Regions from separate parts of the Homo sapiens genome. Here region 2 is linked to region 1. The links are contacts of gene promoters, found by promoter capture Hi-C in blood cells and fetal thymus (Javierre and others, 2016). All regions are on one chromosome and are shown on one strand. The core of a region is centred on a gene start or on the middle of the fragment in contact, and the rest is flanking DNA. Distances in the headings are between cores, read along the strand shown. Region 1 holds the start of BCAR1 (BCAR1 scaffold protein, Cas family member). Region 2 overlaps CFDP1 (craniofacial development protein 1).

Evidence for each region. The method cuts DNA at HindIII sites, captures the fragments that hold promoters and counts their contacts. A CHiCAGO score of 5 or more calls a contact.
Region 2: a contact is called between a fragment that was not itself captured here and the fragment with the promoter of BCAR1 in region 1, in 15 of 17 cell types (endothelial precursors, M2 macrophages, M1 macrophages and 12 more). The highest score is 18.3, in endothelial precursors.

The regions. Positions count from the first base shown.
Region 1 is chr16:75,249,306-75,257,122 of GRCh38, forward strand. It overlaps BCAR1 (BCAR1 scaffold protein, Cas family member), which reads right to left and starts at 2,319. Exons shown (of 7, transcript NM_014567.5): 1 at 2,166-2,319. The coding sequence starts at 2,177. It overlaps LOC105371344 (a long non-coding RNA gene), which reads left to right and starts at 6,493. Exons shown (of 3, transcript XR_933740.3): 1 at 6,493-6,928. RefSeq lists silencers at 2,202-2,361, 2,422-2,531, 6,846-7,140 and enhancers at 2,531-3,071, 3,612-4,152, 4,153-4,692, 4,693-5,233, 5,773-6,313 and 3 more. The HindIII fragment of the contact is 27,287 bases long and covers 1-7,817 here.
Region 2 is chr16:75,368,361-75,376,177 of GRCh38, forward strand. The region is part of intron 5 of CFDP1 (craniofacial development protein 1); the gene reads right to left. Among named protein-coding and RNA genes, the nearest start is that of CFDP1, 61 kb to the right of the region's middle. The HindIII fragment of the contact is 1,901 bases long and covers 3,173-5,073 here.

The DNA of each region.
Region 1 (7,817 bases), core at 1,069-3,568:
GCTAGACCCACCCCTCCACCCTACTTCTGCCCCAGGCTAGAATGTAGAGGTGGGAGGAAGTCAGGGAAGCAAGACACAGGTGGAGCCAGGGCCTCTCCTGTGCTCGGAGGGCCAGGAAGGGCCTGACAGAGGGCAGAGCCCCACCCTCTTACACGGAGACCACCCTGCAGCCCTTTATCTGGGGGCCAAGGAAGAGGCTTGCCCAGTGTCTTTGCTGGAGAAACTTCCCTATCACCCAATCCCACTCCCCACACTTCACCTCTGACTCCAAAACTGCCTCCTCTTAGAAGCCCCCCTGGAGCGCACCTCCCCTGCTGGTTGGTTCTAGCTGACCAGTTGGTTTAGCCGGCTGTGGGCTCCTGGGGGCAAGGGAAGGAGTTGTCCAGGCTCAGAAGAAAAGGGTGGTAGGACCTCCTAAAGGGACAGCAGATGCCAGGAGAGGGCCGCAAAGGCACAGCGTTGGAACCAGAGGGTTCCTACCAAGTTGACAACTCCAAAAGAGCATGGTGGTCCCCCAAGGACCAGAGCTCCCCCAATCCCAGACTGGGAATTCGGAGGCCACATGTGGTGCTGCACTGGGGGGCCATGCCAGAAGACGAGGTTCTGGATCCAATTCTGAGGACAACTGACTGTCTCTCTGTACCTCAGTGTCCCCATCTGCACCATCCGTATAATGGGAAAGGGGTTTGAGGAGCTGTCTCAGGGCCCCTCCTGTACAGACAGGAGGCCCTAGTGGCACTGTCCTTATTTCCATCCCTCGCCTAGACCTGGGGCCATGGTACCAGTACACAGTGCTCACCCTCCTGCTCAGACAAACAGTAACGGCCAGAAGCTCCAAGCCTCCTGCCCCAGCCCAAGGTGACTTTCCTGGCAGAACCTGGGACTGCCCTGCCCTGCCCTGCCTCCACCCAGCTCCCGGGCAAGCAGTGCCAGGAGGAAGTGTCAGCAGCTCCTCCCCAAAGCTCTTTTCCCCACAGCCCCGCCACCCCCGTACCTGGGCCCCGATTCTCCAGGCACCCCGACACCTGCTCTCACAGGCCGGCCAGCCCCCACCACCCAACTCTCCACCGAGGGAAAGGAATGGGCACAAGAGGGGGCGTGTCCCGGCCCAGGGCGATGGGAAACATCTCACTAGCAAAGAAGAGATCAACCCATGGTCATTCTGAGAAGGTGACCAAAGCTGCGGCGGGCCCCGGGAGGGGTGTGGGAAAGGAAACCAGGGACTCTCAGGAGGGAACGGGAGCCTTGTGGTAGAAAAGGAGCTGCTGTCCCCGATCTGGAACTCGAAACCCCAACATCTTCCAGGCCGTAAGCCCCTCACCCCGCACCCCTAGGCAAATCTCCGCTTTCCCAACTCCCTCACCTCGGTCCAGCGATCAGCCTCTCGGACCCTCGAGAGGGAGCTCCGACCCTGCTCTAGCTCTTGCGGGTCCCCCAACCATGGACTCCAAAGCCTTCATGTCCACACTGCAGAACCCGGCCCTGGCCCCCTCCCGCGACACTCGCGTGCGGCTAGGACTCCTGTGGCCAGGACCCGGCTTCCACCGGCGCTCGGCGTGCGGGGCTGCAAAGCCCGCGGCGCGCCCGCCCCCACTCCCGCTCCGCTCCCGGAACCCCGCGCCGGCGGCCGGAGTGAATCATTAACTGGAGCCGGGTGCTCCGGCTGCGCAGCCTTCCCCGCTGGCGCCACGCACTTGCCCGCCCGGCCTCGGTCCCCCGGAGCTCCTCCCTCTCCGGGAGCCGGTGGGCAGTCCCCACGCCACACCAGCCGGACCACCCGCCAGAGGCTCAACGGCCCCTCCTCGCAGCCGAGGAAACTGAGGCTCGGAGGCAGGGCGCAGAGGCCCAAGGTGACACAGCAGGCGGCCGTCGGCCGGGGAGCGCGGGCCCCGCCAGCCACTTTCCCGACACAGGAACCCTCCTACCGGCTGGCGGCCCCCGCGCCCGGCCCCGCCAACGCACCCGAGGCGCACAGGCTCCGGAGCCCCCGCGGTTCCTGCCTCCCGGCTTCCCGGCCAGGGCAGAAGGAGATCCCAGGGCCGCGGACCCCGGCCGGCGGTTCCCAGGCCCCGCAGGTCCGGCAGGAAATGCCGCTCGCTTAACCCCTTCCAGCCCGCTGCCGCCTCCAAGCCCGTACGCGGCCCGGCCCCACCTGGCGCCCTCACCAGGTGGTTCATGGTGTCCGGCGGGCCTGGGGCCCCGGCTCTCGCGGGGGCGCACACCGAGCTGCCCGGGCCGCGTGCCCTCGGGGCTCCGAGCGCGCCGCAGCCGCCCCGGTGCCGCCGCGCAGCTGCCGCCTCGGCCACCCAGAGCCGGTCCAGCCGCTCTCCGCCTGCCGCCACGGCCCAGCCGGCCCAGCCCGATCCCAGCATGCCCGGCCGCGCGCGCCCATTGGCCGCCGCCGCTCTCCATGCAAATAAGCCGCCTGTCGGGGGCGCGGGCGCGCAGACAGAAGCCCGCCCAGTAGGGGCCGCCCCCCGCCCCGCCCCCCACCTCCAACCCCGAGGCTCCAGGCCCCTGCCCGAGGCCAGGCTTCCAGCCTAGGGCGCAGGACACCGCTCTCCAACAAATGCACGTCCCCGCCTTCCACCCAGGCGAGAACGCACCGAAGGCCTACGCAAACTCCTCCACTTCTGGGAAGGCTGCCCGGTTTGCCTTCTTCCTCCAGAGCCGAGACATGGCCTCAAGTCGACTTGTCTTTCCCGCTAACCAACCCCAGGGCATTCATCGCGTGTCCATGGGCCGTGGGACTCAAATCTGAATCTAGAGGGAAAGGGGAGGGGGCGTGCCCCAGCCTGTAGGAGACGAATCATCACCACCACAGCTCCGACTGTAGACGGTCCCACCGTGTAAGGACCCCAGGAAATGAAGCCTCAAGCAGGGAGGCTGGCGAGCTCTCGACCCAGCGCTTTTCACGGGCAGCACCTACCTTCCCCTGCATTGTGCCGACATCTGGGGACTCGGGCTGGTCCTCCAGCTGATCTGCCTCCTCTCATTACTCATTCCTAGGTTCAGCCTAAAACCTGGGCCTAGTACCCTCCTGAGTCCTGCTCCAACTCATCTGCTTCAGCGACATGGGGTAGGAGAGCGGCACTGGGGGAATGAGGGAGATAGAAGGAAGAATCACTCGGGGGAAACCGAGTGGAGACAACCTTGGCTCTCCTGAGTTGCCCCTTGCTCGGTTGCAGGTCAGTGACTGTCACCCCATGCAGCAGAACCAGGGTGCCAGAGCCCCTGGGCCAGGCCAGGGAGGCACAATCTGCAGGGAGATGATAGGACCGAGCCTGGTCCAGACCAGACAGGACCCTCAGTCAACAATCCTGGGCCACTGGCTGAGCAATGGGATGCCACGAGGCAGCCCTGGTGGCAGGGAAGCAGCGGGGTAGACCCGGCTTCACGCAGCAGAGAATTCTCAAGCATGGCCTATGGAAGACACAAGCCCAGGTGGGCCTGCAGCTGCCCCTCTGTCTGACCCCCAGGGCTCAGCCTACGCAGCGCCTGGCCAGATGTGCCACCTTGGCAGGCCCTCTCCCCTCTCTGGGCTCCTTTCTCATCTGAAAAGGGGCTAGGACAGCCCATGATTTGCTGCTCAGGTGCTCTGGGGAGCTAGTTAAAAAACAGACTCCTGTGTCCCACCCCTCCCAAAAAACTGGACGTCTGCATTTCTTCAATATTTGGCTTGGGAAGCATTGGCCAGAACTCACAGCACAGCGGGTGAGGAAGGAGCAGTGGGATGAGACAGAGCATGACCCAGAGTCCTCAGGAGGAACAGAACAGCTAGCCAACACCCTGTGCCTCCCCGACACAGCCCGCCTCGCCTCAGAAGAGGAGCCAGCCTTCAGGGAAGCTGCCTGGAGCATCTCCTCCTGCTTGTTCCCAAGAGCTGTGCCGGGCCCCTCCTGCACCCTGACCCTGTCCAGCCACCCACTCCTCAGCCTGGCTGGCACACCAGCTTCCCAGAGAGCAGGTCTGAACCAGCGGGACCCTCAGGAGCCTGAGGTCATCCCTGGGCCTCCACTTCTGTGGGGAGGGGAGACCAGGCCTCATGGGCAGGCAGTGCCCTGCTGGCAGGGCCCCAGGCAGCAGTCTCTGCAGGGACGGGCAAGGACACAAAAGGCCTGGCCCTCAAGGGAGCTGGCCCCTGCTCCATCCTAGTTGGCCAAGGAGGGCGGTGCAGAGAGGAGGTGGATGGCTGGAACCTTGGGGGATGAGACCCTCCTCCCCCAGTAGCTGCATTAGAACAGCACTGGGGGTGGGGCTGCTGGTGTGAGCAGGAGGCAGCAAGGGAAACAGGCTCCGACACAGGCATTTCAAAAATTTGCTCCTTTTCCACTTAAATTCCCTCCCCCAAAAGCCTGTGCCTCCCAGAATGGCATTTCCGCTTTGGAAACAAGGCCCCAGAAGTTAAGCCCCACAGTGTTGATGGGGATGTAGCTGGGGGGTGGGGGAGGAGCACCCACTGGCCAGGCTCTGGCCGGGGTATATGGGGGCAGAACCTCACCCCACCCCCAGTCCAGCCTCCCGGACCTCCGCTGTCAAGGACAGGGATGCAGCCCCACATACCCAGCACAGCCTCTGCGCCCAGCCAGTGCCAGGGGCCCTATGCCCATGCATTTATTTTGTGCACACAGCAATCCTGCAAAACAGGCTCACCGTTAGCCCCAATTTTTTTTTTTTTTGAGATGGGGTTTCACCATATTGGTCAGGCTGGTCTCGAACTCCTGACCTCAAGTGATTCACCCACCTCAGCCTCCCAAAGTGCTGGGATTATAGGCGTGAGCCACTGCACCCAGCCTAGCCCCATTTTTCACATGAAGAGACCGAGACCCAGTTTACCAACCACTGCCCCATCCCACACATTTCGGGGCACAGAAGGGACAGGGCCAGGGAAGAAATGGGGCTGCTAGACCTCAGCCCACCCTGCAGCAGGAAGGGAATCTAGGGACAGGGACAGCAGCACTCCAGGCTCAGAAAGCCAAACACCCCTGTCACACTCAGACTGCAAAAGGACAGGCAACTGAGACCTAAGCACCTTCCTCCCCAGTAAAACTGAGCTCAGCACTGGGGCCAGCACCACCCCCACCCCACTAAGTTTAGCCCCATTGGTGAGAAGGGGTGCAGTAAACATTTGTTGACTGGGTGGGACCTCAGAGGTGGCCCTCATGGGATAGGCTGGCCTGGGTGAAGAAATCTGAGGCTGCCCCAGTCTGGAGGATGGGGGTGGTTAAGTCACGCCTAAGTGCAGAGGCACACACTTGCATACACACAGCACACACGCATGCGTATACACACAGTGGGACTGGCAGCAAGGAGAGACGCCCTGAATAAGGAGGAGCTGGGAGAGGTTGTTGCCAGACCAAGGGAGACAGCTGCAGATATGTGGCCGGGGCACCAGCACAGGGCCCTCCCAGACAGTTGTGTCATCCCAGGAGTGGCCTGGCACCTCCAGCCAGGTTGAAGATGAGCTCACAGGCTGGAAGGGATGTCTCCAACCCCTCAGGGCCTGGAATAGCTGTTTGTACAGAAAACAGGTGGACCCAGCACACCAGGACACTAAGTGTCTGGAGTGGAGGGGGTTATACTGGACCCAAGTGGAAAGATAAGCCTGGGATAGGGTTCCTGCTCTTTGGGCTTTCTGAGATCTGCCTTCAGGACAGACCCACTGCACAGAACTTTTCTTGCTCAATGCTCACCAATGTCCACTGCAGCATTTATGACAGCAAAGCATGGAGCAAAACAGGCTCACCTATCAATGCTAATTCTAGGGGACCGGTGAGACAAACCACAGCGCCTCAGTAGAATAGCTTGCAGCTATTAGATGGCCTCTTCCAAAGACTGAAATAATGCAAGAAAATGCTTACAACAAACTAAAGTGAAAAGAGCAGGCTAAAACCAGTTTGCACAGTGTAAAGGCACACAGCCCCCTCCCCTCCTGAAGCCTCGGCCTCCCAGCAGCAGGGAGGGTGGACTCGGTTGATGGCCAGCTCTGGGAGCGGCAGCAGGAGAGGATTTCCTGAGGCCGGAGGTGAGCACTGCCAGCCCCAGGAACAGGAAGAAACGGTATCTCTGGAGGGCCAATGAGAGCTGACACCATCCCCCTAGGCTGGACACTCACAGTGGCAAGCTCAAAACCAAGGCAAGGCTGGGCAAGGTGGCTCACGCCTGTAATCTCAGCACTTTAGGAGGTCGAGACTAGCCTGTCCAACATGGCGAAACTCCGTCTCTACTAAAAATACAAAAATTAGCTGGCCGTGGTGGCGGGCACCTGTAATCCCAGCTACTCAGGAGGCTGAGGCAGGATAATTGCTTGAACCAGGAGGTGAAGCAGTGAGCTGAGATCACGCCACTGTACTCCAGCCTGGGCGATAGAGCAAGGCTCCATCTCAAAAAAAAAAACAAAAAACAGCTGGGCACAGTGGCTCACGCCTGTAATCCCAGCACTTTGGGAGGCCAAGGCGGGCAGATCATCTGAGGTCAAGAGTTCAAGACCAGCCTGACCAACATGGTGAAACCCCGTCTCTACTAAAAATACAAAATTAGCCGGGCGTGGTGGCACATGCCTGTAATCCCAGCTACTCAGGAGGCTGAGGCTGGAGAATCACTTGAACCCGGGAGGCGGAGGTTGCAGTGAGCCAAGATGGTGCCATTGCACTCCAGCCTGGGCGAGAGAGCGAAACTACGTCTCAAAAAAACAAAAACAAAACCCAGGCGAGGGCACGGAACCTTTGTGGATAGCACGGAGGTGAACCTACTGTCACACACAGAACGGACAGCCCACACCCCAACACCAGTCATTCCTCACTGCTGCCCTGGGACCAGGACGGAACGACGGCTACCTGGAGGCAGAGAGAGGGGCAATGCCCCACGCAGCTCCCATGGCCAGCAGAGCTCGCACCTTCCACCTCATAACCCAGGCGTGTGCCTACTGGTAAGCACCCCAGGTGACCCCAGACCGCAGAGCATGCACTCAGGACTCAAGCTGGAGCTGTTACCATAAAGGGCTTCCCATCCTCCACTGCGGGGCAGTGTTTGTCATTACCAGTAGTGGCTCTGACTGTGGGAAGGTGGGCGGGCCCTATAGCCTGAAGCCAAATCCCTCCAGTGGTCATCCCCTTTGGCATGCCCAAGGCCAGTCCCCAGAGACCCGGGGGCAGGGGCAGTATCCAAGGTGTGTGGGCAGAGCTGCCAGGTAAGGGACACAGCACGGATGGGGGGGGGTGGGGCCTCCCTGCACTCCAAGTCCTGGCCTGCATCCCACTAAATCCAGCCCTACGCCTCCACTTCAGGCCTGTCAGAAACAGGACTGGAAGAGGCAGCACAACTTTCCAAATTATCTGGAAATTAACAAGCAGCAGAGGCCCCTGCCGTAGGTGCCTGCCTCAGAGAGGGGCTCAGCTCACAGCCGCCCGAGGCCGGTGTGAGCCAGCAAGGCAGCCCCAGGGTGCCGTTCAGAGGCTCTCCGCCCACCCCAGCAACCCCTTCCTCTTCTGCACCCTCCTCTCTCAGCTCTCCCCTCCTGCCCAGCCTCCTGGGGCTGGCAGGTGGGGCAGGCACCAGCACAGGGCCCTCCCAGACAGGTCCTCCTGGACCAGCGGCACCCCTGTGTGCAGTGAGGAGGGGCCATGTGCACTCTGCCCCGCTGCTGACCACCAGGTCCTCCTCCTGAATCTGCGCCCTATGGCAGAGGCAGCCCCTCAGCACTGCCTGGGGGAGGGGGAAGAGAGGGGCTCAGTCCTGGCTGGAAGGGGGAAAGAGGGGCAAAGGGGCAAGCTCTGTCCTCGTCCTCAGAGAGGAAGCTCCATGGCTGGGGGCTGCCC
Region 2 (7,817 bases), core at 2,873-5,372, 120 kb after region 1:
AGTGGAGGTTTTGGTGGTGGAGTGGATGGAGAGCTATCATAGATGATGTAAAATGGGACATGTGTTAAGTACTGAAGATTGGTTACATGCACATGGAGAGATTCATTATGCTAGTCTCTCTACTGTATGAAATTTTCCACAATAAAAAATAAAAGGGGTATAGTAATGTCTACCCGCAAAGATTTGAGTATTCAACTTGATAACACATATAAAGGATTTAATATAAAAGATTGGCAAAATATTGATAACTGTTGAAGTTTAGTGATGGGTACAGGGATTCATTATACCTTACACTTTACTTTTGTGTGTAGGTCTGATATTTTCTTTCTTTTTTTTTTTTAGACAGGGTCTCACTCTGTCAGCCTCAACCTCCTAGGCTCACGCAATCCTCCCACTTCAGCATTCTGAGTACTACAGGCACGTGCCACTACGCCCAGCTAATCTGTGCATTTTTTGTAGAGATGGAGTTTCGCCATGTGCCCAGGCTGCTGCAATTTTTCATAATAAAAAGTTGTTTGTTTGTTTTTTTTTAAGGAGTCTGATACTTACACATTTTCATTGTGGGTATCAGTACTTTCCTTTTTACATTTTTCAATAACTTAAAGAAAGTAAGGATAAAATGGAATAAAATATTCCAATACTTGCACAAACATGTCTTGCTTTATGAAGACCAAAACATTTATGTGGCCAATCAGCTAATGTATCAAATTCAAGGTTTGGTTAAAAATAGGCACATCAGAAATGTAAGTGTAATATGTGTAAATGAGTTGCTCAAAAGTCCAAAGTAAATACAGTCCTCCTCTCCTCAGTATAGTTTTTGAACGTAAATAAGACTGATTTCGTCAGGCATAGGAGAAATTATTTTTATTTAGGGAATAATAAAAAAAGTAGCTTAAAATACATATTGCAGGCCAGGCGCAGTAGCTCATGCCTGTAATCCAAGCACTTTAGGAGGTCAAGGCAGTATTGCTTGAGCCCAGGAGTTCAAGACTAGCCTTAGCAATATAGCAAAAGTTCGCTTCAAAAAAAACAAAAACAAAACAACCCACAAAAAAACAAAAAGCCAAAAAACCCGCACACTGCTATACAGAATTCTAGCTAGATGCAGGCTTCTGCTTTAACTATTATATACATTTAGACACATGGCTTCGCAGTAGGTTGCCTATTTATTCTCCAATAATCTAAACAGTGTATTGACAGAGACGTATGTGTCCACACTTGTTTCTTCTGATGAAACTGGAAAAGCAATTTGCAAATCTGTCTACCAGAAACAAAGAAAACTAAGTAAGACCAGATTATTCTCTAGTGCTCAGAGTCTCAACAGCAGGTTAAGGAACCAGAGTTTCCAAACTGGCCTCCTTTTGTTTGACCAACACTTTACTTACTTACTTACTGTATTTATTTGTTTATGAGACAGAGTCTCACTGTGTCACCCAGGCTGGAGTGCAGTGAAGCGATCTTGGCTCACTAAAACCTCCGCCTCCCAGGTTCACGTTCAAGCGATTCTCATGCCACAGCCTCCCCAGTGGCTGGAACTACAGGCCTGCACCACCAAGCTCAGCTAATTTTTGTATTATTATTATTATTATTTTTAGTAGAGACAGGGTTTCACCATGTCGTCCAGGCTGGTCTCAAACTCCTTACCTCAAGTGATCTGCCCACCTCGGCTCTCAAAGTGTTGGGATTACAGGCGTGAGCCACCATGCCTGGCCTTGAATTTTTTCTATTATTTATTACTTTTTTTTTTTTGAGGCAGAGTTTCGCTCTTGTTGCCCAGGCTGGAGTGCAATGGTGTAATCTTGGCTCACTGCAACCTCTGCCTCCCAGGTTCAAGTGATTCTCCTGCCTTGGCCTCCCAAGTAACTGGGATTACAGGTGCCTGCCACCACACCCAGCTAATTTTTGTATTTTTAGTAGAGATGGGGTTTCGCCATGTTGGCCAGGCTGGTCTCGAACTCCTGACCTCAGGTGATCCACTGACCTTGGCCTCCCAAAGTGCTGGGATTACCAACGTGAGCCACCACGCTCGGCCAAATTTTTTCTATTTTAAAAATAATGTGGAGGGAGGAATAGCATTAGGAGATATACCTAATGTAAATGATGAGTTGATGGGTGCAGCACACCAACATGGCACATGTATACATATGTAACAAACCTGCACGTTGTGCACATGTACCCTAGAACTTAAAGTATAATAAAATAATAATAATAATAATGTGTGGCAGGGTGCAGTAGCTGACGCCTGTAATCCCAGCACTTTAGGAGGCTGAGGAGGGCGGATCACCTGAGGTCAGGAGTTCCAGACCATTCTGGCCAACATGGCAAAACCCCGTCTCTACTAAACATACAAAAATTAGCTGGTGTGGTGGCATGTGCCTGTAATCCCAGCTACTTGGGAAGCTGAGGCACAAGAATCGCTTGAACCCAGCAGGCAGAGGCTGCAATGAGCCAAGATCATACCACTGCACTCCAGCCTGGGTGACAGAGCAAGACTGTCTCAAAAATTTAAAAAAAGAATTAAAAAAAACTTAAAGATCCATTTGCAGAAATCAACTCACTTGCAAAAGGACTTGCTTACTACAAAATTCAGGTTGGGATCTATCTCACTTTGTTAGTTTATTCATTTATCAAATATGCCCTATATGAGCATATACTGTGCCAAGTGCAGAAAAAAGCCAATTCCAGAATTGTAAAAAACAAACTATCACATGTTCATGTGGACTTCACTGTAGTGTTCCGCAGGGTTTCTTAACTTGGGAACTACTAACATTTTGAATAAGCCAATTCTTTGTTTCGAGCTGTCCTTTGTACCGCAGGATGTTTAGCAGCATCTCAAACTTTTTACCCTCTAAATGCCAGTAGCATCCCCTGCCTTGCCCAGGTTATACAACCAGAAATGTCTCTAGACACTGCCAAAAGTCCCCTAGGACAAATACAAGTTAAAACATTTTAAGTAATGTCAACATAATATGATACAATTTCATAATTATATATCTCTCTCTAAAGATGATTAAACACTGGCTAATGTCTTAAGTAAATAAAACTGTGGAGATTAAAATAGTGATGTCAAAGCAGATTAAGAAACCTGAATGGGGGGCGAGGTTAAAAAAACTGAACAAAGTTCTTATATATTCAAATGTTTTTTAAAAACTAACCTTAAGCGTTTTGGTTAAGCTTCCTTTGTAGTTGGGAAATTCCTGTTCTGCTAATTCAGGCTCTTTTCTAAAAACAGGTTTATATATTTTAGTACATAAAAATATTACTATAGCCTAACATTCATAGGAAGAATCTCTTGGTCTTTTCTGAGAACCTCTCAAGTGTTTTGTTACATATTAGAATAATCAGAGGAAAGAAAAGTAAGTGAATTTCAGTCTTGGTGTATTCTCCTCCAACTCAAAGGTTTCATTTAGTAGGAAGAGGATGAAAATGTTGATTAAATCTATATACGTTTTTAATAGTTTTAAGTTTCATTTATTTGTTAAGTCTACTGTTTCCTTGATGATTTTATAATTTCCTTGTCCTAATACGAACTAGTAAGTGAAGATCAACCTTGTTATTTAAAATAGGGAAAAGGGAAAAACTACTAATTTTCATTGAGTCCTTCTGTGCCAGGAACTGTAGTGACACCTTATCTCATTTCATTCTCAAAACAGCTCTATGAAGTAGGAATTATGATCCCTATTTTACAGCTAAAAGAATTAAGTAAAACTATTATTTGCACCAGGCAATCCTGTTCAAGTCAAAAGCATATATAATACTCTACCTATTTCTAAAAAAGGAGCCAGCAATAACCATGACAGCTTTCTCTTCCCTATACTGTAAAATATAAGAAGTCCAAAGTAATAGCTATAAGAAGGGTTTTAATCTGAAGAGTTTGACAGAGAACTAAGAATCCCCAAATAATCAAAAAGAAAAACTCATCACATCTAGTGGTAACAAAATTCGGATATATATGGTTTTCATATCTGTTCATGAATAACTCAACAATGGGCAGCAAAAACACACCCACAATTTCAAGACTCTGGCCAGGAGTGCTGACCAGCCTCAATAAAATGTCAGCTTGCTGCCAAAGGATCCAGATCAGTGGAATTGTCCAGTTCTCTAAGGAGACAATGCAGAGTTGCCTGCAGACTGGTTCTGAAATCGAACCAGAACTAGAACTTAAAAACAAAAAGCAGATCAATCTCTAGGCATCAAATTTCTTCTTCCTGAAAGAATAAACAGAAAACCTAAGTGAGTTATTCTAGCTGTACCTCAATCCAGGGTTTAGTCTGGAAGCCAATCTACTTGCTCAACTGTTTGCAAAGTTCATTCAACTCTTCCTCCCAGGTTTTGTTTCATGAGAGAAAAATAAAACCATCATCTTTTGGCAAGATGGAGTATTAACTTTTCTCCTGGTATTGCTGTCACTCACAGTTAAAAGAAAATGCACGCACACACAAATACATACCCTTTAAATGTCTAATTTAAATCCTAAATAACCCAGAGTACATGTGAGGGAGGAGAAAATAAAAGCCTTAGCAAGGAATATTTTAGTTCCAAAATTCTAAAGGCAAACTGCTAACTGAAAAGGGAAATTAACTTTATCAACTGTAAAAGAAAAAAATTCAACATCTTGTTGTTTTAAAGGAGTTCCCCGGCATGGAAGCAGATCATACACTTGATTCCTGATGCAGGAACTGAAACAACTCTGGCCCAGAGATAAAAGGGTGACAATTTGCTTGACACACCTATGCTGGAGCAGCTACTCCCATCTGTCTACTTTCCCTCCTTCCCCTAAAAGCTACTTAAGTCTCGGTTTATCCAGTTACATGTGCTAAGTGAAAAGAAGGCATAATTCCCAAGCCACGTTTTTGGAAATAACATGGTGACCCATTTCAACACTTACACACACAGATGTTAAATTAGCCAAAGTATATTTAAATAATCTCATCTCATTCATTCTTGCTAATGCTCATAGATTCATTATCGTATTGGACTTTCTTCCCACAAAATGACTGGCCTTATACCAAGTTTTATAAATATTAAAAAGGTTGTTTTGTACTAAAAAAGAAAATAACTGGAGGAGAGGGAAGCTTCTCAAAAGAACTTTCACATGGTGGGTAATATAAATGTCGCTAAGATAAGATACACAACGCTGGATTCTTTTTCTCTGTGACCCCTGCCCACCCCCCATTCTACCTAAACTCACTGTGTAACTAATCATGAACAAAAGAGAGGCACAGTTTGAATTTCAGCTAGAGATACACACTGTATTCAAAGGGTTTGCTTCCCTAAAGACTGTATTCTTTTTATTTTTATTTATTTATTTTGGTATGAACGGGGTCTCCCTATGTTGCCCTGGCTGGTCTGAAACTCCTGGCTACAAGACTGTATTCTGCTCTAGATACGAAGCCATTTTGTCCTTTACAAGGGAAGCCTTGACTTCCTCTACACAATTTACTAATCCTAATTGTAATAAGCATTTCCATTTGAGAAAAAAATTCTGGTAGGAATTGTATCATCTTTCTAAACATGAGGCAATCTTTACAAACATACTGTTTCTCAGAAAGAAAATGATAAAAAACCTAAATGTCTGTATAGGGAGTTAGTTTTGAAAATTATAGAACTGGCCAGGCACGGTGGCTCACACCTGTAATCCCAGCACTTTGGGAGGCCAAACCAGGTGGATCACCTGAGGTAAGGAGTTCAAGACAAGCCTGGCCAACATGACGAAATCCCATCTCTACTAAAAATACAAACATCAGCCAGGCGTGGTGGTGGGTGCCTATAGTCCCAGCTACTTGGGAGGCTGAGACATGAGAATCACTTGAACCCTGGAGGTGGAGGTTGCAATGAACCGAGATCGCGCCACTGCACTCCCGAGACTGTCTCAAAATAAAATAAAATAAAATAAATTATAGAATATTCAAAGTAGAACACTATACTAGCCATTAACAAGAATCAGATAAATGTATAGGCAATAAGATGAAATATGTTAGTATATGTATTTTTGTATTTTCAAGCAAAAAATACAAACTTCAGGAAAATAGGCTTAGATTACTCCATTTATATAAATAAAAAACACTTATATGTGAACAGAAAAGTATCTCATACAGATACACATTCATATACATAGATTACTAAATGCTTAGGGAAAGGTCTAGGACAGAGCTGTCAAATAGAAATAAAATGGGCGGGGCATAGTGGCTCACACCTGTAGTCCCAGCACTTTGGGAGGCTGAGAAGGGAGGATCAGTTGATCCCCGGAGTTTGAGACCAGCCTGGGCAACATAGTGAGACCCCATCTCTTAAAAAAAAAACACACAGAAATAAAATGGGAACCACATACCTAGTTTAAAAACATATTTTAGCCCTATTAAATATAAAAAGAAACAACTGAAATTGTTTTTAATACATTTAACCCAATATGTCAGAAATGTTACTGTTTCAACAATGGAACTGAAATAAAAATTGACTGCTTATTTTTTCTTACTAATTCTTCAAAATTTAGTGTGTATTTATACCTATAGCACATCTCAATTCAGACTGGTGGCATTTCAAGTGTTCAACAGCCACATATAGCTAGTGACTACTCTACTGAACAGTGGAGACCTTACAAAAACCCCACCAAATTATTAACTTTCATTTTGTCTTCTATATCTCTGTGTTGCTTGAATTTTTAGAAGAACACGCATATATTGCTTCTATGTTTCTAAAAAAAAAACCTAAATGTGTCCATATATGAAAATTAATTCAAGGTACAAAAAAAACCTAAACATAAAAGCCAGGACCATTAAAAAAAGGCAAAATCTTCTCAACCTTATAGGCAGATTTCTTAGGACACAAAAAGCACTAACTGTAAAAGACGAACTGAATATCAAAATTAAAAACTCTGCTCATCTAAACACACCACCAAAAAAATGAATAAGCAAGACAAACACTAAGAAAAATTCTTAGCATTTACATCTGACAAACTATCTATATTCAGAATATAAGAAGAACTCCTATAAACCAATAACAGAATAAAACAACCCAATAAAAATGGGTAAGATTGGAAGAGTCACTTTACACATGAAAAGATGTCATTATTATTAGTTTTCAGAGCAATGCAAACTAAAATCAGAGGAGATACCATTTCACACTTACCCAAATAAAAAAGACTGACAAGGCTGGGCGCGGTGGCTCATGCCTGTAATCCCAGCACTTTGGGAGGCCGAGGCGGGTGGATCACCTCAGGTCAGGAGTTCAAGACCACTCTGACTAATATGATGAAACCCCATCTCCACAAAAAATACAAAAATTAGCCAGGTGTGGTGGCATCCACCTGTAGTCCCAGCTACTCCAAGGCTGAGACAGGAGAATCGTTTAAACCCCAGAGGTGGAGGTTGCAGTGAGCTGAGATCATGCCACTGTGCTCCAGCCTGGGCGACAGAGCGAGACTCCATCTCAAAAAAAAAAAAAAAGACTGACAACATCACATGTGAACAAGGATACGTATGGACCAAGTAGAACCCTCATACATCACTGGCAAAATATAAAATGGTACAACCATCTTGAGGAACTGTTTGGCAGTTTCTTATAACATTAAGACTGAGCGTTGTGGCTCATGCCTATAATCCTTGCAGTTTGGGAGGCTGCAGCAGGAGGACTGCTTGAGCCTAGGAGTTTGAGACCAGCCTGCAACATGGGGAGACCCCATCTCTACAAAAAAATTAAAAATTAGCCAGACATAGTGGTGTGCACCTGTAGTCCCAGCTACTCGAGAGGCTGAGGTGGGAAGATCTCTTGAGCCACAGAGTTCAAGGCTGCAGTGAGCTGTGATTATGCCATTGCAT